2 separate regions of the Homo sapiens genome follow, and region 1 is linked to region 2. Evidence: promoter capture Hi-C in human tissues and cell types (Jung and others, 2019). All regions are on one chromosome and are shown on one strand. Each heading gives the region's core, a stretch centred on a gene start or on the middle of the fragment in contact. The rest is flanking DNA. Distances are from core to core; before and after follow the strand shown. Region 1 overlaps NINL (ninein like). Region 2 holds the start of NINL (ninein like).

Region 1 (4,557 bases), core at 1,487-3,986, 63 kb before region 2:
TATAAATTATCCTTTTAGAATAGTGGAAATGACTCTGCTGTCCATTTAAACAGAATGGATAAACAAATTGATACAGGCATAGTCATACAATGAAATACCTGACAATGAAAAAGAACAAACCACTAATAGACACAGTAACACGAATGTATCTCAGAGACATACTATGGAGTAAAGAAGCCAGAGAATGGCCGGGTGCGGTGGCTCTTGCCTGTAATCCCAGCACTTCGGGAGGCAGAGGCAGGGTGATTGCTTGAGCTCAGGAGTTGGAAACCAGCCTGGGCAACATGGTGAAAAAAAATACAGTAATTAGCCGGGCATGGCGGCATGTGCCTGTAGACCCAGCTACCTGGGGGGCTGAGGCAGGAGGATTGCTTAAGCCCAGGAGGTCGAGGCTACAGTGAGCCAAGATCATGCCTGGGTGACGAAGTGAGACCCCGTCTCAAAAAAAAAAAAAAAAAAAAAAAAAAAAAGGCCAGAGAGTATGTATTGTGTATTAAAATGCAGAATTTAAAATTCAGAAACAGGAAAAAAAAATCTCTGATGTTGGTGTCCAGGCAGTGGTTGACCTTTGGTAGTAGAGGAACCAAAAAGAGACATGATGAGGGATAAGGGTGTGATGGTTACACAGGTGCGCTCAGTTTGGAATATTCACTGACCTGTACACTTGGACACATGGCTCTTTTCTCTAGGTACGCTTCAGTGAAAGTCACACAGAAAGAAATCAACAGAAGGGCTATTAGGCTGGTCAAAATATCACCACTAAGTGTTGGAGAAGAAGGTTTGGGGCCATAGGTCCAAGCATGCTTCCAAAATCTGACCAAGAATTTGCATGAGCACACCTCTGTTGCTGCCATTGAATGCAAAATGTGGCTGTTTCTTTGCAGACACCTCTGCCTGGGACACACATGTATTACTATCTGACATTAAATTATACATGCATTTGCTTATTTTCTGCCCCCCAGTTAAAATGTGAGCTCACTTTTGGCATATAGTAGGGACTCAACAAATATTTATTGGGTGTCTTTGCCTCTGTATCCTTTCACTGCTAACCAGAACTCTCCTTCTCACAGAGGCATTCTTTCACCTTTATTCTTAAAGGATATTTTTACTCGGTATGAAATTCAGGTTGACAGTTATTTTCTTCTAGCATATTGAAGATATCTTTCCACCGTCTTCTGACTTCTACTGTTGCATTACAGAAAGCAACGGTCAATCTAACTATGGCTCACTTTTAGGATATGTCTTTTCTCTAGCTTCCCTTTTAAAATTATTAAACTTTTCATCTTGAGATCATTATAGATCCATATGCAGTTATAAGAAAAATACAAAGAGATCCTGTGTACCCACTTCTGGCTGTTTTTAAGATATTCTCTCTGGCTTTGTTTTCCTTCAGTTTCACATAATACGCCAGGTATAGATGTCTCTTTATCCTGCTTGGAATTCCATGGGCTTTTGGAATCCCAAGAAGTATGTTTCTGTCCTGAAAATGTTTTAGCTATTACTTCTTCACATAATGCCCCTCCAGCATTCACTTGTTTCCTCCCAGGACTCCAGTTAAAGGGATGCTGGACTTTCTCACTCCATCTGTACCACCTCTTTTTATATCTTCATGCTGCATTCTGGATGACTCCAGTTAATGAATGGTCTCTTCAGCTGTGTCTAATCTGCTGTTAAATGCTTCTATTTAGTTTTAAATTTTGGTGATCATACTTTTCAGTTCTAGACATTTTATTTGGTTCATTGTTCAGATTTGTTACTTCACTTTTCAGAGTTCTTTTAGATATTTTTTAAGCTCTAAAAAAATCTCTAATATAGTAACCATAGTTGTTTTATATTTTGTGTCTAACAATTCTAATATCTCACATATTTGCGGGTGTGCTTCCATTGTCAGTTGTTTCTGCTAGTTCTTGCTCATCTGTCTTGTTTGTTTGCCCAGCTTTCCTTTATCATATGCTGGTCATTGTATTTGGCTATTATTTAGGAAAAATTTCAGATTTGGGATGGTGGCACTTTTATTGTTTGCTTTGGCTAGGTGCCTATCCATGCAGTGCCAGTAATCTAAGTGCAGGATTTGAGATTATCTAGTGTACTGAGGGATATAAGACCAGACCACAAAGCAGTATAATGACTGACTGCAATTCATCTTTACCCTACAGGTCTTACCCTTCAGGATTCTTCCTTAAATTTGGGGTTGGTTTGTCAACCCTGGGTTTCTACCTTGAATGACTCCGGGTTTTGACATATGTTTCTGGGGCTCTTTGAGGCCCCCAAGGTCACAGATCAATTTCTCAGTTGCTTACTTAAAATCACAAAATATTCTCAGGGAAAATGGGCTTTTGTGTGCTAAGCTTACCTCTCTGGGTACTTAATTTACTACACTTTTTTTTTGTTTGTTTCTGAGACAAGATCTCACTCAGGCTCAATCACAGCTCACTGCAGCTTCAATCTCCCAAGCTCAAGTGATCCTCCACCTTGGCCTCCTGAGTAGGTGGGTCTACATGTGTGTACCACCACCCCCAGCTAATTGTTTTTTATTTTTAGTAGAGACAAGGTCTGGCTATGTTGCCCAGACTGGTCTTGAACTCCTGAGCTCAAGTGATTCTCCTGCCTTGGCCTACCAAAGTACTGGGATTACAGACCTGAGCCACCATGCCAAGCCTATCGCAGATTTTTTGACTGGCAATTTCTCACTGATTTATTTGCTCTTTACTGTTTTCAAAATATTTGTTTTTATTATTTTGTTCAGTTTTTCTAGTAGTCCTCCTTGAAAGCTTGGCCTGAGTTAGCTCACTTGCCACTATCAGAACATCTGAACTGCTTCTTCCTTTTTTTAGGGCTGCAAAAAGATTTCAACAAATGGAGCTACCAGGATTATTTAACCAATCCCATACTGAAAAAGCTGTTTCCACATTTTTCCTATCTGAATCAATGCTAGAATGCATACCTTGAATGCATGTCCTTTCACATGAAGATAGAAACTGTGAGTCTTTCCTCCTTGCATCCCTAGCATCTGGTGTTGCCTAGCACATAATAAGTCCCTCAAAAATAGTTGTCAAATACTAAACGAATGATGAAATTGCAATTTTGCTCATTCTAATCACAGATTCTTTTGTGTTGTTGGTAATAATTGCCAGCTGACTTTCTTCCATCCATCAAAGAGCAGTGGGATCAGATGGCCCAGTCTGGTGCCATTTCAGTCTGATACCATCTTGACCACACTTGTCTGTTTTCTTGTGTCCTTCTTTACAGTTCACAAAAGGCGAGCGGCAACCCCATATATTCAGGTATTTTACCAATAAGATACACCATCCCATCTCTGCATGATCTTAGACTCATTCATCACAAAGTAAAGAGGCTGCAATGTGTGATCTAGAGGTACTTTCAACTTCAAATTACAATTGTCTCTCAGTATCCCTGGGGGATTGGTTCCGGGACCCTTGGCAGATACCAAACTCCACAGATACTCAAGTCCTTTGTATAAAATGTAGTATTTGCATATAACCTATGCTCATCCTCCTGTATGTTTTAAATTAGCTCTAGATTACTTATAATAGCCAATACAATGTAAATACTATGTAAATAGTTTTAGGCTGCATTGTTTAGGAAATAGTGAGAAGAAAAAGGTCCATACCTGTTCAATAGAGATGTGACCATCCTTTCTTTTTCTGAATATATATATATGAGAGAATATATATATATGAGAGAATATATATATATATATGAGACAAGGTCTCATGCTGTTGCCCAGGCTGGAGTGCAGTGACACAATCACACCTCACTACAGCCTCAAACTCCTGGGCTCAAGCAATCCTCCCAGCTCAGCCTCACAAGTAGCTGGAATTACAGGTGCATGCCACCACATCCAGCTACCTTTAAGATTCTTCTGTAGAGACGAGGTCTCACTCTGTTGCCCAGGCTAATCTTGAACTCCTAGACTTAAGCAATCCTCTCACATTGGCCTCCCAAAGTGCTGGGATTACATGTGTGAGCCACCGCACCTGGCCTGTTTCATTTTTATGAGATTTCTGTATCAGTAACGTTTATATAATATCATATATGATAGTTACTACAAGGACTGGATATGTAGTATTTGTTTGTTTGCTTGTTTTTTTGAGATGGAGTCTTGCTCTGTCGCCCAGGCTGGAGTGCAATGGCGCGATCTTGGCTCACCGCAACCTCCACCTCCCGGGTTCAAGTGATTCTCCTGCCTCAGCCTCCTGAGTAGCTGGGATTACAGGTGCGTGCCACCACGCCGGCTAATTTTGTATTTTTATTAGAGATGGGGTTTCACCACATTGGTCAGGCTGATCTCCACCTCCCGAACTTGTGATCCACCTGCCTTGGCCTCCCAAAGTGCTGGGACTACAGGTGTGAGCCACTGCGCCTGACCCAGATATGTAGTATTTGAACTGAAAAGCCAATCCATTCTCCTGGATAAAGGGTTTATCTTGGTTTTGAGACTCCCTGAAATCTCTACCATTGGGTTTCTTGTAGAAAAACTGGGACACCTATACGGATATTTCTGACTTGATACCGCTTCCCTTAAATCTCTGTATG
Region 2 (4,894 bases), core at 1,057-3,556:
TCTGACAAAGGTCTAATATCCAGAATATAGAAGGAACTTAAACAAATTTACAAGAAAAAAACAACCCCATCAAAAAGTGGCCAAAGGAAATGAACAGACACTTCTCAAAAGAAGACATTTATGCAGCCAACAACATATATTAAAAAAAAAGCTCATCATCACTGGTCATTAGAGAAATGCAAATCAAAACCACAATGAGATACCATCTCACATCAGTTAGAATGGTAATTATTAAAAAGCAAGGAAACAACAGATGCTGGAGAGGCTGTGGAGGAATAGGAACGCTTTTACACTGTTGGTGGGAGTGTAAATTAGTTCAACCATTGTGGAAGACAGTGTGGCGATTCCTCAAGGATCTAGAACCAGAAATAACATTTGACCCGGTGATCCCATTACTGGGTATATACCCAAAGGACTATAAATCATTCTACTATAAAGACACATAAACGTGTATGTTTATTGCAGCACTATTTACAATAGCAAAGACTTGGAACCAACCCAAATGCCCATCACGGATAGACTGAATAAAGAAAATGTGGTACAGATACACCATGGAATACTACGTAGCCATAAAAAAGAATGAGTTCATGTCCTTTGCAGGGACATGCATAAAGTGGGAAGCCATCATTCTCAGCAAACTAACACAAGAACAGAAAACCAAACACCGCATGTTCTCACTCATAAGTGGGAGTTGACAATGAGAACACATGGACACAGGGAGGGGAACATCACACACCTCACACATCGGGACCTGTCGGGGCGGGTGGGGGGCAAGAGGAGGGAGAGCATTAGGACAAATACCTAATGTATGTGGGGCTTAAAATCTAGATGACGGGTTGATAGGTGCAGCAAACCATCATGGCACATGTATACCCATGTAACAAACCAGAACGTTCTGCACATGTATCCCAGAACTTAAAGTAAAATAAAATTAAAAAACAAAAACAAAACAAAACAAAAACTTGGCCGGGTGCAGTGGCTCACGCCTGTAATCCCAGAACTTTGGGAGGCCGAGGCAGCTGGATCACCTGAAGGTCAGAAGTTCGAGACCAGCCTGGCCAACATGGTGAAACCCCCATCTCCACTAAAAACACAAAAAATTAGCTGGGCGTGTAATCCCAGCTACTCGGGAGGCTGAGGCAGGAGAATCGCTTGAATCCGGGAGGCAGAGGTTGCAGTGAGCCGAGATGGCGCCATTGCACTCCAGCCTGGGCAACAAGAGTGAAACTTCGTTTCAAAAACAGCAACAACAACAAGAACAACAACAAGAAGAACAAAAACTCTGCTTTTAAAAGTATTTTAAGTCCAGTGTGAAAAACCTAGAAGTCACAGCAAAGGCCGCTAAGAAACTTACCATTACTCATGACCCCTCTTACTACTGACCTTGAAAATCACTTGCCCTTCTCCAAGGCCCCGCCAGCTTCATGGGTCTCTTCCTGAACCTCCTCCCTAGTTCCAGGGCTTGGCCTAAGTCTCACAGAGCAGAAAGAAACGTGGCCACCCTTCCTCACGTGAGTCCTGTGCAAACATACAGCCCCACACAGAGCTCCTAACAATGGGGCATCAGTACCCAGGCACGATCGATGATTATGAACCCAACGCGATCAGAGACTCCCACATGGTGTGTGTGACTGCGCGCACAGGCGGGAGGAAAGGGGCGAATCTGCAAAACGAGTACAACAGATAAAATTCGCAACAGACTTCTACACCCTTTCAATCAACCGTCCCAAGCGCCACGAACGCGGGTCCCGCTCCGTGGGGGGCCGCAGCCACACTGGCAGGAGGGAATCCTGGGCCTCGACCAGACGCCGGCGGCGTCAGGAGAAACGGCCCGCGCTGGGCAGGCGGCGGGCACCGCGTAGCTCATTACCACGGGGGGCCCCGGCCAAGGCCGCCCGCCTCAGGCCGAGCCTTGGGGCTGTGCTGGACCCGGGCCCTCGTTCGCACGGCGCCCGCGCCGCCGCCGTCGGGAAACCGGGTTTTCAAGCGTTCGGCCCAGCGGGCGCTGTATTTTAGGGCGTGACCCCCGCCCCGCCCTCGAGGGCGACCGGAAGAGCAGGCACCACAGCAGATGCGCCGAGTCTGCGCCCCGCACCGCGAGGAGCACCCGAGGCCGCGCTCCCGGAGCCGGGTCTGGTGACTAAGGCGCGGGTCGCGACGCAGGGGCGGCCCCGGACTCTCGACCCCACCAGCCGCCTGAATGTCCCGCCGGACGCCCGGGCCGGCTCACCTGGGAGGCGCCTCCGCCGTCCGCCCGCGCGGGGCCAGGAGCGCGGCACCACCCCCGTACCGCCGGCCGCTCTTTGTGTCTGGAGGCCGCGACGCAACACTCCTCCCGGCCTCGAGGCACCGCCCCCTCGGTGTCCCGGCGCAGTGGGCGAACAGGGGGCGGGGCGAGCGAACGGGAGAGGGGGCGGGTCGGGTCCGGGATTGCGGGGCGGGGTGGGGGCAAGGCGGCCTCCGCAAATCTCAGGGCGGCTCTGGCCAGTTTGGAGCCTGGGGTGACCCTTGGAGCTGACCTCGCTGGTCCCTGTCGGAGCCCTGCGCGCTGCGGAGCTTGGCGGTTCGCAGCTCTCGGGGTAGCATCTTCTGGAAACAAGCCCGGAGGCCGGCCAGGCAGGGGTAATACCCCAAACCCACCACTGAGGAAACCGCGACTTAAAACCTAGGTCGTCACGTTTCCACCGCATATTAAATCAATACGGGTTGAGCATCCCTAATCCAAACATCTGAAATCCGAAATGCTTCAAAATCTGAAAGTTTTTGAGCGCTGACCTGATGCTCAAAGGAAATGCACATTGGAGCACTTCTTTTTTCTTCTTTTAACTTTCTTTTCTTTTGAGAAAGGCTGTCACTTCTGCTGCCCAGCCTGGGATGCAGTGGCGCGGTCATGGCTCACTACAGCCTCGACTTTCCCGGCTATGGCGATCCTCCCGCCTCAGCGTCCCAACCCCCAGTAGCTGGGACTGCAGGCATCTGCCACCATGTCCGCTAATTTTTGTATTTTTAGCACAGAGTCTCACTGTGTTGCCCAGGCTGGTCTCGAACTCCTAGGCTCAAGGGATGGATCCACCGCCTCGGCCTCCCAAAGTGCTGGGATTACAGGCGTGAGCCACCGCGCCCGGCCTGTATTTTTTTAAGAGAGGAGGCTTCACCATGTTGCCCAGGCTGGTCTGGAATTTCTGGCCTCAAGTGATCCTCCCACCTTGGCCTCCCATAGTGCTGGGATTACTGGCATGAGCCACCGCACCTGGCCTCATTGGAGCATTTCTAATTTTGGATTTTCAGATTAGGGGTGTTCAATTGGTATAATGCAAATATTCCAAAATCTGAAATCCTAAATGCTTCTGGTGCCAAGCATCTCGGTTAAGGGATATTCAACCTGTATATATTTATCGAACACCTACTAGGGCCAGGCATTGTCCTAGGGGCTGCCAACAGCGGTGCAAAAAATCCCTGGCCCTTATAGAGTTTACACAGAAAACAATTTAAAAACGTAAATACCCGGCCGGGCATAGTGGCTCATGCCTGTCATCCCAGCACTTTGGGGGGCTGAGGCAGGCGGATCACCTGAGGTCGGGAGTTCAAGACCAGCCTGACCAACATGGAGAAACCCCGTCTCTACTAAAAATACAAAATTAGCCGGGCGTGATGGCATATGCCTGTAATCCCAGCTACTCAGGAGGCTGAGACAGGAGAATCGCTTGAATCTGGGAGGCGGAGGTTGTGGTTATCAAGCCACTGCACTCCAGCTTGGGCGACAGAGTGAGACTCCATTTCAAAAAAAGAAAAAAAAAAGTAAATACAGCCAGGCACGGTGACTCATGCCTGTAATCCCAGTAGTTTGGGAGGCCACTGTGGGCAGATTGCCTGAGGACAGGAGTTCGAGACCAGCGTGGCCAACATGGTGAAACCCAGTGTCTACTGAAACACAAAAAAATTAGCCAGTTGTGGTTAACGCGCGCCTGTAGTCCCAGCTACTCGTGAGGCTGAGGCACAAGAATTGCATGAACCCAGGAGTCGGAGGTTGCAGTGAGCTGAGATCTTGCCACTAGACTCCAGCTTGGGCGACAGAGCAAGACTCTGTCTCCAAAAAATAAAAATAAAAACATAAATATACAAAAATGTCAGAGAGTTATATCAGAATTACAAAATGAGCTACAGTACACTGTAGCATGAGAAAGGTGCATATACTTTGTAGGAACTCCACTTTAGAGGATGTGAGGATCAGAGGCAAAATGGGGTGAGAAGGAAGCAGGATGAAAGACAGGCTATGGGGGAACGGAGTTTCCAAGGGCGAGTGAAATTTCCAAGTGCCTGCAAGTGCTAAACCCCATGCAGAGCAAAAGGCAAACACAGGGAGTGGTTCAGAGACGCTCATAGTGTGTTCTAGGCTGGGAGGTTTCTCTGACCTGCTGAATGTGCCCAGATACCTTTTGCTATGCCCATGACCTGTCCCAACCAGTGTGGGGCACAATGGCAGGACACACCGTGCAAAGGTGGTCCCTGTGGGATGCGCAGCCAAGACCCCGATGACTCCAGTTTATAACCCTGGATTCCCAGGGGTGCTCAGAGCCATGGGGGCTGCCATTGTGAAGAATGTCTTCTCTTCAGTGCTCCTGATGCTCTGCACGGGCTCCCACTCACTGGCTGGAGAATGAATTTGGAGTCAGAAGATGTGAATCATGCCACTTACTAGCTGTTTGACTGTGGATCACCCAGTCATGTAACATCTGTGATCTCAGTTTCATTTGCAAAATAGAAATGTAAAAATTACCCATTGCACAGGAGTGTACTGAATTTATTTGTTATTTTATTTCTTGAGACAGGATCTCAGTCTGTTACCCAGGCTGGAGTGTGGTGGTGTGATCACAGCTCACTGCAGCCTTGATCT

Evidence for each region. The method cuts DNA at HindIII sites, captures the fragments that hold promoters and counts their contacts. A contact is called where the count stands out against the background at its distance.
Region 1: a contact is called between a fragment that was not itself captured here and the fragment with the promoter of NINL in region 2, in 4 of the 25 tissues and cell types used here (hippocampus, mesenchymal stem cells, spleen and 1 more).

The regions. Positions count from the first base shown.
Region 1 is chr20:25,519,549-25,524,105 of GRCh38, forward strand. The region is part of intron 2 of NINL (ninein like); the gene reads right to left. Among named protein-coding and RNA genes, the nearest start is that of NINL, 64 kb to the right of the region's middle. The HindIII fragment of the contact is 4,223 bases long and covers 626-4,557 here.
Region 2 is chr20:25,583,225-25,588,118 of GRCh38, forward strand. It overlaps NINL (ninein like), which reads right to left and starts at 2,307. Exons shown (of 24, transcript NM_025176.6): 1 at 2,231-2,307. RefSeq lists a silencer at 2,242-2,371. The HindIII fragment of the contact is 43,094 bases long and covers 1-4,894 here.